4 separate regions of the Homo sapiens genome follow, and all the other regions are linked to region 1. Evidence: promoter capture Hi-C in human tissues and cell types (Jung and others, 2019). All regions are on one chromosome and are shown on one strand. The core of a region is centred on a gene start or on the middle of the fragment in contact, and the rest is flanking DNA. Distances in the headings are between cores, read along the strand shown.

Region 1 (3,072 bases), core at 335-2,834:
ATTGGTAGCTTTAACAATGACTAGAAGAAAAAACATAAAAGAACTAATTGAAAAATAGAAAGTAAAAAAATACATACCCACGTTGACAGAGGGTTTAGTTGTATTTCTGTCCTCCAAGGAGACATTAGTTGAAGGAAAACTTAAGTCTATTCAAAAATACTCTCTCTCTCTGCATTATTGTCATTAAAATAATAAGCATTTCAAAAGTGAGAGAGAGGTGGACTGTTTCTTTACTAATTAATAAGCTAATTCATCACTCACATTTTTCTTCAGTTAACTGTTTAAGCACTTCACCCACGATCTAAGGAAGAAAATAAAAAGCATTACTTTTTGGCAACAGCTAAATAAAAAAGCAAATTACCATCACCCCCTATTCCCCAAACTCCATCACCTACCTGCCCAACACTCTGTAGGGCCTTCAGATCATTTTCAGACTTTTCATACTGCTTGGTAAGTTCTTTTAATTGTTCCCTTACTGAAATAATACAATTTGAACATTTTTAATTGAACAGTAATCTTAGTGTGTTTAAGTCGCTACGTCTCACTTTACTGTTTACGTAAGTCTACTTCACTTTACCTAAGTTTCACATCCACTGTTTCAAACCATAAAAGAAATAATGCTGTTTGTAATGAGTAGGTGGCATGTATAACAACAAAATGTTACAGAGAAAGCACCATACTTTTACTTTGTTGATCGGCAATACTTGTTTAAGCACATCTTAAGTTATAGTCTTAGAAGATATTGACACCCTGACACTTAGGATTTGCGACTACAAATCCGAATGATAATCACTTAGACCCTTCCTCACCTCTTCACCTACCCACGTGGATTGTTCTCTGACATTCTACCCTAAATAAAGTCAACAAATGCAGTTCTCCACAGAATCATGTAATTATGGTCCTCCATTTAATTAAACTACTCATGCTTTTCAATGAAAATGCACTGGAAAAAAAAGTTAAGCACTCAGGAGGTAAGGGAAATTTGTATGCCTGATACAGTACAACACGAAACACAAGACGATATGGGTTATTATGACAACTGGAACACTTCTCTCTTAAGCTCCGCGGCCGTCTTTCGACTCCAAGAACAAGCCGACTCCCTGAGTCTCATCTCTTGTTTGAGCTTACTTGACTCAAGCGCCTTCCCCTCTCCAAGTCCCGGGACTCCACCAAGACTGCCCTTCTTGCACCCTAACCTGGGAAACATCCTCGGCCCACTTCCCCACTCCTCCTCTACTTCTTTTTCATTTTCACCTCAAGGCCGCCGATGTTCTGTCACCCGGGCTGGACTGGGCCATTTCTACACCCGAAGGAGTGCTGCTCCACAAGCTCAGGGCCGGATGACAAAGCGCCTTGTCCCTGGCCCTAGGCCTGGTCATCTCTAAGGCTCGGTTGCCGGGCTCGGCGAAAGGCTTCTGCTTTGTCAGAGGCAGAAGCGAGTCGAGGCACTTGATTAAATGGAAAGAAAGGTGCACTCACACTCCTTAAGACGGCCGTCGATCTCCTTGTGTTCAAGCAACTTCTTGCGGTAGTCCTGAAGCGCCTTATCTCTAGGGTCCGCCATGATGAGAAGCCGTCTCTCATAGGGGATGCCGGGAATGGCCATGGCCGTCCGGGCGGGGGAAGGGGCGGGGCGAGGGGCGAAACCCTGCCTGGAGGGGTGGGTTCGCCCATGAGCCCTCCCCTTCCGGTTGGCCCCGTCTTTCTACTCCACTTCCACCTCTATGTCTCGGTTCACCTAGAGCGCCGGCATACACTGAAAGAGGCCTCCACCTATACCGTTTCTTGCAAGCCGAGATAGGTAAAGCAGGACTCAGTTATCCCGGTCTTCCCCTGAGAGGCCTCAGTATTAAGTCACTGCTGTCCCGGAAGTATAAAAGGCTCTGTAATAAACTGAGATGGAAGTGAAGTAGGAAATGTGTAATACCTCAAAGGAGTTCCGATGGCCTGTCGACACAACACAGATGGCCTTTGTTATAACACAGTACTGTCCAAGACCTCCACGTGCTGGAGAAGTAGACAGTTTTATTCATCCATTCAGTCAGTGAATGAGGTATTAAAGGTAGATCTGCTTATCATTTGATAGGAAATAATAATAAAAAAAACTTCAGAGTTTAACAAATACTGTGAAGGAATTAAAACACGGTGAGAAGTATGGTGGGAAGAATTAATCTAGAACAGATATCTGAGATGAGAAGGAGCCAGCCTTGCAACAACTGAAGAAAACCTAAACAAACAGTGCAAGTCCTGGAGTGGAGTGGGGTGGGGGTTGTGGGTAGAAAGCTTGACTCACTTCCAGGAACAGAAAGGAGGCCAATGAGACCAGTAGGGGGTGGGTTGTAGAGATGTGGGGTACAAGATAAAGATGCTGAAGTAGGCTGAGGCAGGAACTTTGAAGTCTGATAGAACCTTCAGATTTATGTATTTATTTATTTACTTTTGAGATGGAGTCTTGCTCCTGCCGCACAGGCTGGAGCGGTGACGCGATCTCAGCTCACTGCAACCTCCACCTCCCGGGTTCAAGCAATTCTCCTTCCTCAGCCTCCGGAGTAGCTGGCATTACAGGTGTGCGCCACCACAACCGGCTAATTTTTGTATTTTTAGTAGAGACGGGGTTTCGCCATGTTGGCCATGCTGGTCTCGAACTGCTGACTTCAGGTGATCCACCCTCCTCAGCCTCCCAAAGTGCTAGGATTACAGGTGTGAGGCACTGCGCCCGGCCAGATTTTTTTTTTTTTTTTTTTTTTTTTGAGTCTGTGTCTCACTCTGTCACCCAGGCTGCAGTGTAGTGGTGCGATCTTGGCTCACTGCAACCTCTGCCTCCCGGGTTCAAGCGATTGTCGTGCCTCACCCTCCTGAGAAGCTGGGATTACAGGCGCCCGCCACCACGCCCGGCTCATTTTTGTATTTTCAGTAGGAATGGGGTTTCACCATGTTGGCCAGGCTGGTCTCCAACTACTGACCTCAAGTGATCCGCCCGCCTCAGCCTCCCAAAGTGTTGGGATTACAGGCGTGAGCCACGACGCCTGGCCAACTTTCAGATTTTTGTGATTTGGGGAAAATTACATACTC
Region 2 (3,072 bases), core at 366-2,865, 300 kb after region 1:
GTGTGTTAATCAATTATACATAATTTGTCTGTACAATATTTCTTCCATATTATTAATAGAAAATACTGCATCTGACAGGGCCTTTTACAGAGACTGGTGGTACACTGTTAAGTGAACTTTTTTCAGAATTGGTAATCAATACTCTTTCAAAGTATTATTCAACCAGTTGCAATGCCAGCTAAGCAGTAAGAAAAGTTAGCTCTCATCACCAGCATGGCACATGTATACATATGTAACTAACCTGCACATCGTGCACATGTACCCTAAAACTTAAAGTATAATAAAAAAATTACCTAATAAATAAAAAAAACCACAGTAACTGTTTTCAAAGTGACTCATGGCCCAAGTTTTGGACAGAAATATGTTTTTAACATGTTACATTATTCAGTTATTTTGACTTTATGTTGCACCCAGAATTTTAATCCACTCAATATGAATGTGGAATATAATAAAACAATAGCTTTTTATTAATTAAGAAAAAAGTACCACAAGAAACTTTGTCAAATGTTTTATAAAAATCAAGACACAGTATATGTAAGATATTCTATTAGTTTATGAATTATTTTAAAATATGTTTACAAGTGACTATTTTTAAAAATAATCAAGTTTTCAGTTTTCAGAACTATGGTGAGTTCTTAGTCTATGCTGGTTCCCATTGATTTCTAAATCCTCTCAAGGAGAATGGGCATTATCTCACACTACTAGACTGGTCCTCAAAATAGGTAGGTGAAGGAAGAAGGGCTTGGAAAGATTAAAAAACAATAGCCTACAACTCTTAGAGAGATATAACCTGCAGGCCTATTTTTCAGATGTGGAAACTAAATTTCAAAGAATTGAATTGACTTTGCTAAAGTCACCCAGGAAATGGATAACTGAAGATTCATATCTAGCTCTTCTGTCTCCAAGTTCATTTTTCACATTAACCTGCACATTCTCTTGATCTCAGTCCTCTACATTCAATTCCTGTGATGAGTTCCAGCTCTCTTAGGGTCACGAGCAAATCTCAAAATGGGGTAAATGCAGCCACAGACAGAAAAATGGAGCATCTTTATAAAGCATCACCTTTTATCTGAGGACAGATAGCATTCTTTTTTATTGACATAAAACACAAAGCTATCTTGGAGAGTAATGTAAAATTCACATTAAAGATGAAACACGAGATTTTAAAGCTATCTTATGTATGTTTTGACCCTCTCTGGATTATACTATCAAGTCCTCAAGGCCTGTGGCAGAGCTAGCTATAGTAGTGGTAGCTTTGGTGTTTGAGGCAAGGGCATGCACAGGGTGCCCACAGAGCTGGGGTCTGGAGTGCATTCACACATGAAGCAGCTGCAGCTCCAGGGTCTGGGTCACATGCAGGGTTGGGAGGGTTGGCAGTGGTTCCCCCTTGGAAGGAAATAGGAAGTACAGCAGCAGCTCCTTCTCTTGGGGGTCTTCTGCAGCAGGATGGCATTGGTTACCTTGGTGGTGAGATATGCCAGTGTCCTCTGGAGAACAGAGGACTGTGGTGACACCCACCATGTGACTGAGACTGGCAGCCCCCACCCTTCTTCTTTGTTCTTAGGCATCTCCAGATGTCTTGGATGGGCTGATCTCCCCAGTGATCCTTTCTGTGGGGTTATGCTTTTCCGTTTTGCTCTACTGCATTCTGCAGATTCTTAATTGGACCCTTAAGTCCTCTCAAAGCTATTTTCATTTATGGATATCTGCCTATTTGTTAGTTTTTGTGGGGAGATAGAGGTTGGCATCTCCTACTCCATCATCTGGCTGATGTCACTCTCCTGTACCATTTTGAACATAACTAACTTTGTACATTAACATTTATTCAACATTGAACACATTTATTGAGCACCTACTTTGTGTCAGGCATAGTACTAAGCTCTGGGATTACTGTGGTAATTAAGACGGACACAGTTTTTGCCCTTATTGAACTAACATTCTAGAAAGACAAAAACAAAAACAACCAAATGACAAAAAAACTGCAGGGTGTAATCAGTGCTATGAAGGCAATAATGGGCCTGAGATAGAGAATAAAGTTGGGAGAGGTCAGATGGCAGAATGAAAACACTTTAGTTCACATGGTTTGGTGTTGTCTTTACTGCGGAGACATTTCACATGAAAATCGAAGAATGAATAGATAGGTGAAAGGTATGTGAGTACACTCCCCAAAAGAGAAGTAGCAGATATAGAGACCTTGAGGCAGGAAAGAACTTTGAGGGCTGAGACAACGAGAGAAGCCCAGTGTCATTGAAAAAAGGTGAATGAGTGAGTGGCAATGGCATCAGGTGAGATGGATGAGGTGGACAGGGCTGGATTGCACAGGGCCTTAGGAGTCATGGAAAAGAAGCTTAGATGTTATTCTAAGGACAATGAAAAGCCATTAAAGGATGTTAAGCAGGGAAGTGGCAAGATCTGATTTACTGTCAAAGAAGGACACTCTCACCTTGGTGAGGAAAAGAGTTCCATGGAGGAACAAGGGTAGAAGCAGAAGCCATTGGGAAGTTACTACAGTTTTGCAGGTGAGAAATGATGGGTGTTTAGGCCAGGTTGGTAGTCAAGGCAGACAAAAATGGATGGACTGGGTTAAGTGCTAGTGGGATGAACATGGAGGGTGAGGGAAAGAGAGGATGAAGCTTTACTAAACTTTTTGACTTGAGTCAAGTGTAATTGAATGTGGGGATTGGGAAGTTGTTTGTGGTAGAAATTCTTTTTTGAACATGTTAGGTTTGAAATATTTGTAGTCTATTCAAATAAAGATATCAGGTTGCCAGATGCCAAGCTTACTAGTGTAGAGCTCAGAGGAAAGGGTCCCAATTAGAAATATCATTTTGGGAGTCATCAGTATAATACTGTATCATAAGCAGTATTTAAAACTCTGGGCATAGATGAGATCATGTAGAAAAGAATTCAAAGAGAAAGAGAAGTGTATCTCTGGAAGAAATCTCTGAGAAACACTGATGTTTAGAGATTGGGTTGGGATGAGGAATCTTGCATGGAGCCTGAGAAACAAATGAACCTGAGAGGTGTGAGAAAAACCAGGAAGCTCCCAAGACAGAACAATGTTAAGTATTC
Region 3 (3,072 bases), core at 424-2,923, 300 kb before region 1:
CATTATTTTACTTTATTAAATCTTACTAATATTCTTTAAGGGACAAGCCAGACAAGTAGGCTACAGTGAAGAAATCTTATTCTGAAGAGTTAAGAAACCACTATGGTACTTCCAGGTATTATCCTCAGTGATGCTTCTTATCTTTATTCAGGGACTCCAGATAATATTCAGCTCCTACAGCTCCCACAAATGCAGCAAATCCCCACTTGAATCCTTTTAATAATGCACCAATAAAGGAACCACTATTTGCAAAGCCACCCATGTATCTCCAAGCTTCACCTTGACCCCATGGATCCCTTAGCCCTTGCGCAGCCAACTTCTTCTTGACAGTTTCTAATGGTGTCCCTTCTATCTTCCATTGTTTATAATCTGGAAGTTCCATTTTACTACGTCCATGTTCATGAGCCATGTCTGACGGCATTCTGACCTCTCAGGACACTCAACTCTGCAACCGGAGCCAACCCGGGTGTGTTTTCTTATATGTAAGTTTACATCGATAAAGTTTATTTAAAAGGTTTTTAAAATTATGCCCAATTGGAGTCTTTATAGAGGATCAGGAAAGAAGTGAAGGTGAGAAGGCACAGCTTACCCTCCCCCATCTCCATTGAATTAACAATGGACAGCAAGACACTAATTTCTTTTACCTAAAGACCTTCAACATAGGGTCTCATAGCTTTAAGGGTCAGGGAAGAACACAGCTGTCATAAGAGTAGATGTCAATTGACCTGAATATAAACATAAATTGTGTACAGCTGAAGGTGGTGAGGAGGCAGAACAAGCTGACAAAATCATTCCAGTGACGTAAAGGTAAACTAACACTTGAGACGAACAATACTTCTAGATGACACCCCCATTTCTGCTTTCCAGAGTGGCTTTAACCCAGTCCTTCATGGACACATGGAGATGGTCTCCAGATGGGGTGTGGTGCCTCTGGGTCTGTGAATGGAACCTCATGGGGGCTGGGACAACCCACAGTTGACTCAGCTTCCACGGAGGCGTCCCCTAGCTCTGCTCCAGTTACAAGCAGGCCCAAGCGAGGGAGTGGCTGGCTGGGGTTCTTCCAGCACAAAACCTTTTCAGTTTTCCTAACAATTTCCCGCCTCATGTCTGCAATGTTTTGGCAGCTGCAGGGCCTCTTTTTCTCCTCCCTTTCAACTTGCATGGTTCTTTGAGCCACAAGGGAGACCCAAAACCCTGAAGAACATCCCGGAATGCAAAGCATTTGCAATGAGTCACAGCTGCAGAGGTGCCAGGCTTAAGAGCTGTTCCAGGCTTAAGTAAGACAGGGAAGCGGGGAGAGAGGTCAGGGTTCTCAGCTGCAGAGTTTACGTCAAAGGCTGGACCCAGGAAAGAGGAGCAGCAGCACTGGCTGGAACAAGGAAAGAAAACAATGAGAAATAGATGCATGGGGACCACTCCTCTGAAGTTTCCCCACCTGCTTTACATGGGGCTGTCAGCCCTACCAGCCATTCTCTAAATTCTAAAAATTCTCACAGGAATAAGAACTTTCTGGATGACAGAGGAGTGTAAGTTGGCATTTGGAAAATGATCCCTGACAGTCTTCTAACCAACAATCATAAAGGGCTGAGCCCACTGAGCTTTGCAACACACTATTTTAAGCTGTACTTTAAAAATGCAGTGGGCGTTCTCTTCTTTTGCTCCCACAGAGGGGCATTCACTGGCTCTTTCTTGCCTAAAAAACACGCCTCCCTTTTAAGTCCTGGAGAGAGCCTTTGGGTGTCAAAACATTGCTTCCTTTTCATTTTTGTATTAACAATAGTGAATAGAGAATATATTCATAATATTCACCCAAAATATTCAAAAAACTATAAAATAAGAAGTGTCTAACTTCTGTTTTCCCCAGCCACCTAGTTCTTCCTGGAAGCAAGTTTCTTGTGTATTTTCCCAGAAATATTCTTTGCATATATAAGCACGTCTGGTATATGTAATTGTTTTTGTACAAATGGCATACATTACACAATATTCTCTTTGTTTTTCTAAACAACCTTGAAAACTGCTTCATGTCAGTACAAACAGAACTGCCTTATTTGTTCATTTTCACTAGATAAACAGTACCCTGTTTATATACATGTTGGTTATTTTCCATCTTTCCCTATTACAAACTGTGCTTCAGTGACAATCTTTTAAAATATATCATGTGTGGGTAAAATTTCTAGAGGTGAGATTTCTATGTCAAATTTGGATACTTTGATAGATATTTCGTCAAATTGCCCTTCATGGAGATTGTACCAATTTATACGCACAGGTATGAGAGTACCTGTTTCCGGTCCAGTGTGGCGGCTCACGCCTGTCATCCCAGCACTTTGGGAGGCTGAGGCAGGCAGATCGCCTGAAGTCAGGTTCGAAACCAATCTGGCTATGGTGAAAACTTGTCTCTACTAATACAAAAAAAAAAAAATTAGCCGGGTGTGGTGGCATGCACCTGTAGTGCCAGCTACTCTGGAGGCTGAGGCAGGAGAATCACTTGAACCTGGGAGGTGGAGGTTGCAGTGAGCCGAGATCACACCACTGCACTCCAACCTAGGTGAGAGAGTGAGACTGTGTCTCAAAAAAAAGAAAAAGAGAGGGCCTGTTTCCCCATCCCTTAGCACAGAATATTCCAACTTTTTTACCAATCCCAATTGATAGGTTAAAAAATAATACCTTATCATTTTAATTTGGTTTCATCTTTATCCAATGTCAAGCATCTTTGCCTATGTTTGAGAGCCACTTGCATGTTCTGTTCTGTGAACCATGTTCTCTGCCTGTTTTCTATCACATTGCTGTTTGTTTTGACTTGTTGAACTCTACATATCAGGGGAAATCACGTTTTGTCAATGTACATGTAGGACGGTTTTTCCCCAGTTTGTTTCTTCTTCCCTCCATACTTCTACTGTTTGTTTTATACAGAATTCTAGTTTTATGTTTTTGAACTTACCTTTTCATTTTTGGCCTCTAGAAAGTTTATCATTTAGATAGTATTTCCCTTGAAATTATGAAAAATTCTCGCGATATATTCAACTCAAAGATTTATTATTTTGTGCTCAGCATTTATATCTGTGATCCAGCCAG
Region 4 (3,072 bases), core at 253-2,752, 260 kb before region 1:
CCTACTATGTACCCACAAAAATTAAAAATAAAAAAATTAAATATAGTAAAACAGTAAGAGGAAATGGAGACAGTAAGTATAGACAATGCTTAAAATTTTTTGGAGAAGTTTGACTGTGAAGGGAAGGACAACAGCAAAGGAGACAGTAAAGTCTGAGGAGGGCTTTCTGACTTCTTCTCTAGCCTCTCAAATGATGGGAAAGACTTGAGCACATTTAAGTGCAGATAAGAAGCCTCTGGGTCAAGGAGAGAGTTTAAAGATGCAGGAGAAAACACTGGAGAATCTATTGAGAATAGGAGGAAATGGGATGTGGGCACAGATGGATTAATCTTTGATAAGAACATGAACACCTCTTCTGCCTAATGGCAGGGAAGGAAGAGAGACCATCTTGTGTAGATTTTGACAGTCCGGAAGGTTTGGTAGAGTAAATCAAGGGAGTTATTCCCTTGGCTCCAATTTCAATGGGAAATAGGAGATGAAGTCATAGGAGAATGAGGAGTGAGGCTAGGTTGCAAAGGGCCAGGGTTGACTAATCAAAGATAGTAGACAAGATTGAAGGACAGTGTCTATGACAAAGATAAGGACAGGATCTATGCATATTGATATATTTGGTTACAGCTCAAAGATCAGAGCACACTACTAAAAAAGCATGTGGGGCTGAGAAACTCATCAATATTTATATGTCGTGCTGATGCTCTTGGTTCTAATAGTCTTTACGAGTTTAAGTTTCTTAGTGGCACAGAATCCAAGATATGCACCCTTTCATTCTTTCATTCATTCATCAAATTCTTGTTGAGCACCAGTCATGTGCCAGGTACTATGCTAGGTGCTTGGGAGATATGGCTGTGAACAAAGTAGAACAAGGCTGGGAGCCTTAGGGACCTCTATTCACATGATCATGACATGAATTGTGCCCACGGAGCTGGAATGGTGCCAGTGCATGGAATTGGAAAGTCTCTCCCTTCAAGGGGCTCTTATAATGGTAGAAAAGAAGGCTGGCTGGGATGAAGACAAATATGCTGTATTAGTCCGTTTTCACACTGCTATAAAGAAATACTTGAGACTGGGTAATTTATAAAGAAAAGAGCTTCAATTAATTCATAGTTCCACATGGCTGGGAAGCCTCAGGAAACTTAAAATCATGGCAGAAGGGGAAGCAAATACATCCTTCTTCACATGGTGTCAGGAGAGAGAGTGAGTGCAAGCAGGGGAAATGCCAGGCACTTATAATACCATCAGATCTCATGAAAACTCATTCCCCATCACGAGAACAGCATGGGGAAAACTGCCCCCTTGATCCAATCACTTCCCTCCCTGGACACATGGGGATTACAATTTCAGATGAGATTTGGGTGGGGACACAGAGCCAAACAATATCATAAGCTAACAAACAAATGTGATAATTTTGAATTCTTGGTAAGTTTTATAGGAGAACAAAAGCAAATGAGGAAATAGAAAGTAATGGGGTGGTGGGGATGCAGTGTGGTAAAGGCTACTACAGACTGCCTGGCCAGGAAAAGCCTTGCTGAGGGATGATACTGGGGCTGAGAAACATAGAGCCACAAGAAGAGGCAGGGAAAAGCCTGGGGGCCAAGGGAATGGTATGTGCTAAGATAGAAAAGTAAGGAGTCCTGAATGACTGGATACAGTGAGCAAGAGGTCAGCAAGGTAGACGGTCCAGATCCTGTGAGGCCTTTCAAGCCATGATAAGGAGTTTGGATTCTATTCTAAGTGTGATGGAAAGCTACTGATGTTATTAAGAGAAGAGTAAATGTTGTGATTTACAGATTTAAAGGATCACTCTGGCTGCTGTGTAGTGAAATGGATTGGAAGGGGAAAGATCAGAGAGGCCACTTAGGAGGCTACTGAATAAATAATATAAGTGAGAAGACAGTAGCTAAGATTAGGGTGGGGTGGTGGAGGTGGAGAAAAGTGGAACAATTTGGGATCTGTTTTAGAGACAGACCAACAGGATGTAGTGTTAAACTAGTCATTGCAGACTGGCAGTAAAGGAAAGTGGAAAATCAAGGTTGACTCCTAGTTTGTAAGTTGAGCAAATGGGTTGAATGGTGATATTATCTGATGGGATGAAAAATACTGGGGCAGAAGTAGATATTGGAGGAAAAGTCCAGAGTCTCACACTGCACATTTTAGTTTGAAGTGCCTACTACACATGGATCTACAGGTCTGGAGCTTCAAGCACAGGTCTGGGCTAGAGGTTTGGAAATCATCAACAGAGAGATAGTATTTTAAGCCTCAAGGTATGAGGAGATCAGCTGGAGAGAGAATGTATGTAGAGAAGAAAAGAGGTACTATAGCATGCTGACTTCAGAGATCAGCTAGAGGATGAGCCAGCAAGAAAGCAAGGAAGTCTGAAAAATGAGAAAAGAGAGGTAGAGGAAAAGCTCAAAGACGGCAATGTCCAGACTCCAAGAGGAGTGTGTGTTCAGAAAGAGAGAGTGGGCAAGCGGCTGAGAGAATTCGAAGAAAAGGATGGAAAGGGCACCATTTCTTATGCCACATGAGGATTATTGGTGACATTAAAAAACTGACTCAGTGGACTGATAGAAACAGAGGTATTGGGGAGGAAAAATAATTTTCCCTCAACCCCTCGTAGTTCTTAGCTGGGATGCCTATAACAAAAGACAGATTAACAAAAGAAAAACAAACAATTTAATTAATGCATACAGCACACATCATCTGGGAGAAATTTCAATGAAAAGTAACTCAGATCAATGGCTTATACAGCATATACAGCATCTTCAACAAAGAACAATACATTTGTAGAGAACAGACAAAGAAAAGCAATTTTAGACTTCTAAGGAAAGTTAAATATATTGGAGGAAACTAACAGATAAAATTTGTTTGCAAATCACTCTGGTGCCATGTTTGGGTTGGTAAGAGTCTAGAGTGGTCTCCAGCAAAGGAGAATTTATAGCCTGTCTTTAGGCAGAAAAGGAGGTTGGATAAAGAGAGCTTTTCCTCTACTGCATCTTAATTGCCTTTAGCTCAAAAATAATTTTTATGTCAAAGAGGCAGTTTTGATTCATACAGATGTGAAAAAAAGAAGCA

The links. The method cuts DNA at HindIII sites, captures the fragments that hold promoters and counts their contacts. A contact is called where the count stands out against the background at its distance.
Region 2: a contact is called between a fragment that was not itself captured here and the fragment with the promoter of PSMC6 in region 1, in 1 of the 25 tissues and cell types used here (liver).
Region 3: a fragment that was not itself captured here is called in contact with the fragment with the promoter of PSMC6 in region 1 in 2 of the 25 tissues and cell types used here (mesendoderm cells and thymus).
Region 4: a contact is called between a fragment that was not itself captured here and the fragment with the promoter of PSMC6 in region 1, in 1 of the 25 tissues and cell types used here (mesendoderm cells).

What each region holds. Positions count from the first base shown.
Region 1 is chr14:52,705,712-52,708,783 of GRCh38, reverse strand. PSMC6 (proteasome 26S subunit, ATPase 6) reads right to left here and starts at 1,584. Exons shown (of 14, transcript NM_002806.5): 1 at 1,480-1,584; 2 at 396-475; 3 at 262-301; 4 at 1-20. The coding sequence starts at 1,564. RefSeq lists enhancers at 1,224-1,273, 1,294-1,543, 1,844-1,903, 1,924-2,033. The HindIII fragment of the contact is 7,628 bases long and covers 1-3,072 here.
Region 2 is chr14:52,403,919-52,406,990 of GRCh38, reverse strand. No RefSeq gene overlaps it. Among named protein-coding and RNA genes, the nearest start is that of PTGER2, 91 kb to the right of the region's middle. The HindIII fragment of the contact is 6,411 bases long and covers 1-3,072 here.
Region 3 is chr14:53,009,320-53,012,391 of GRCh38, reverse strand. It overlaps the pseudogene NDUFB3P3. Among named protein-coding and RNA genes, the nearest start is that of FERMT2, 60 kb to the right of the region's middle. The HindIII fragment of the contact is 6,678 bases long and covers 1-3,072 here.
Region 4 is chr14:52,962,516-52,965,587 of GRCh38, reverse strand. No RefSeq gene overlaps it. Among named protein-coding and RNA genes, the nearest start is that of FERMT2, 13 kb to the right of the region's middle. The HindIII fragment of the contact is 4,794 bases long and covers 1-3,072 here.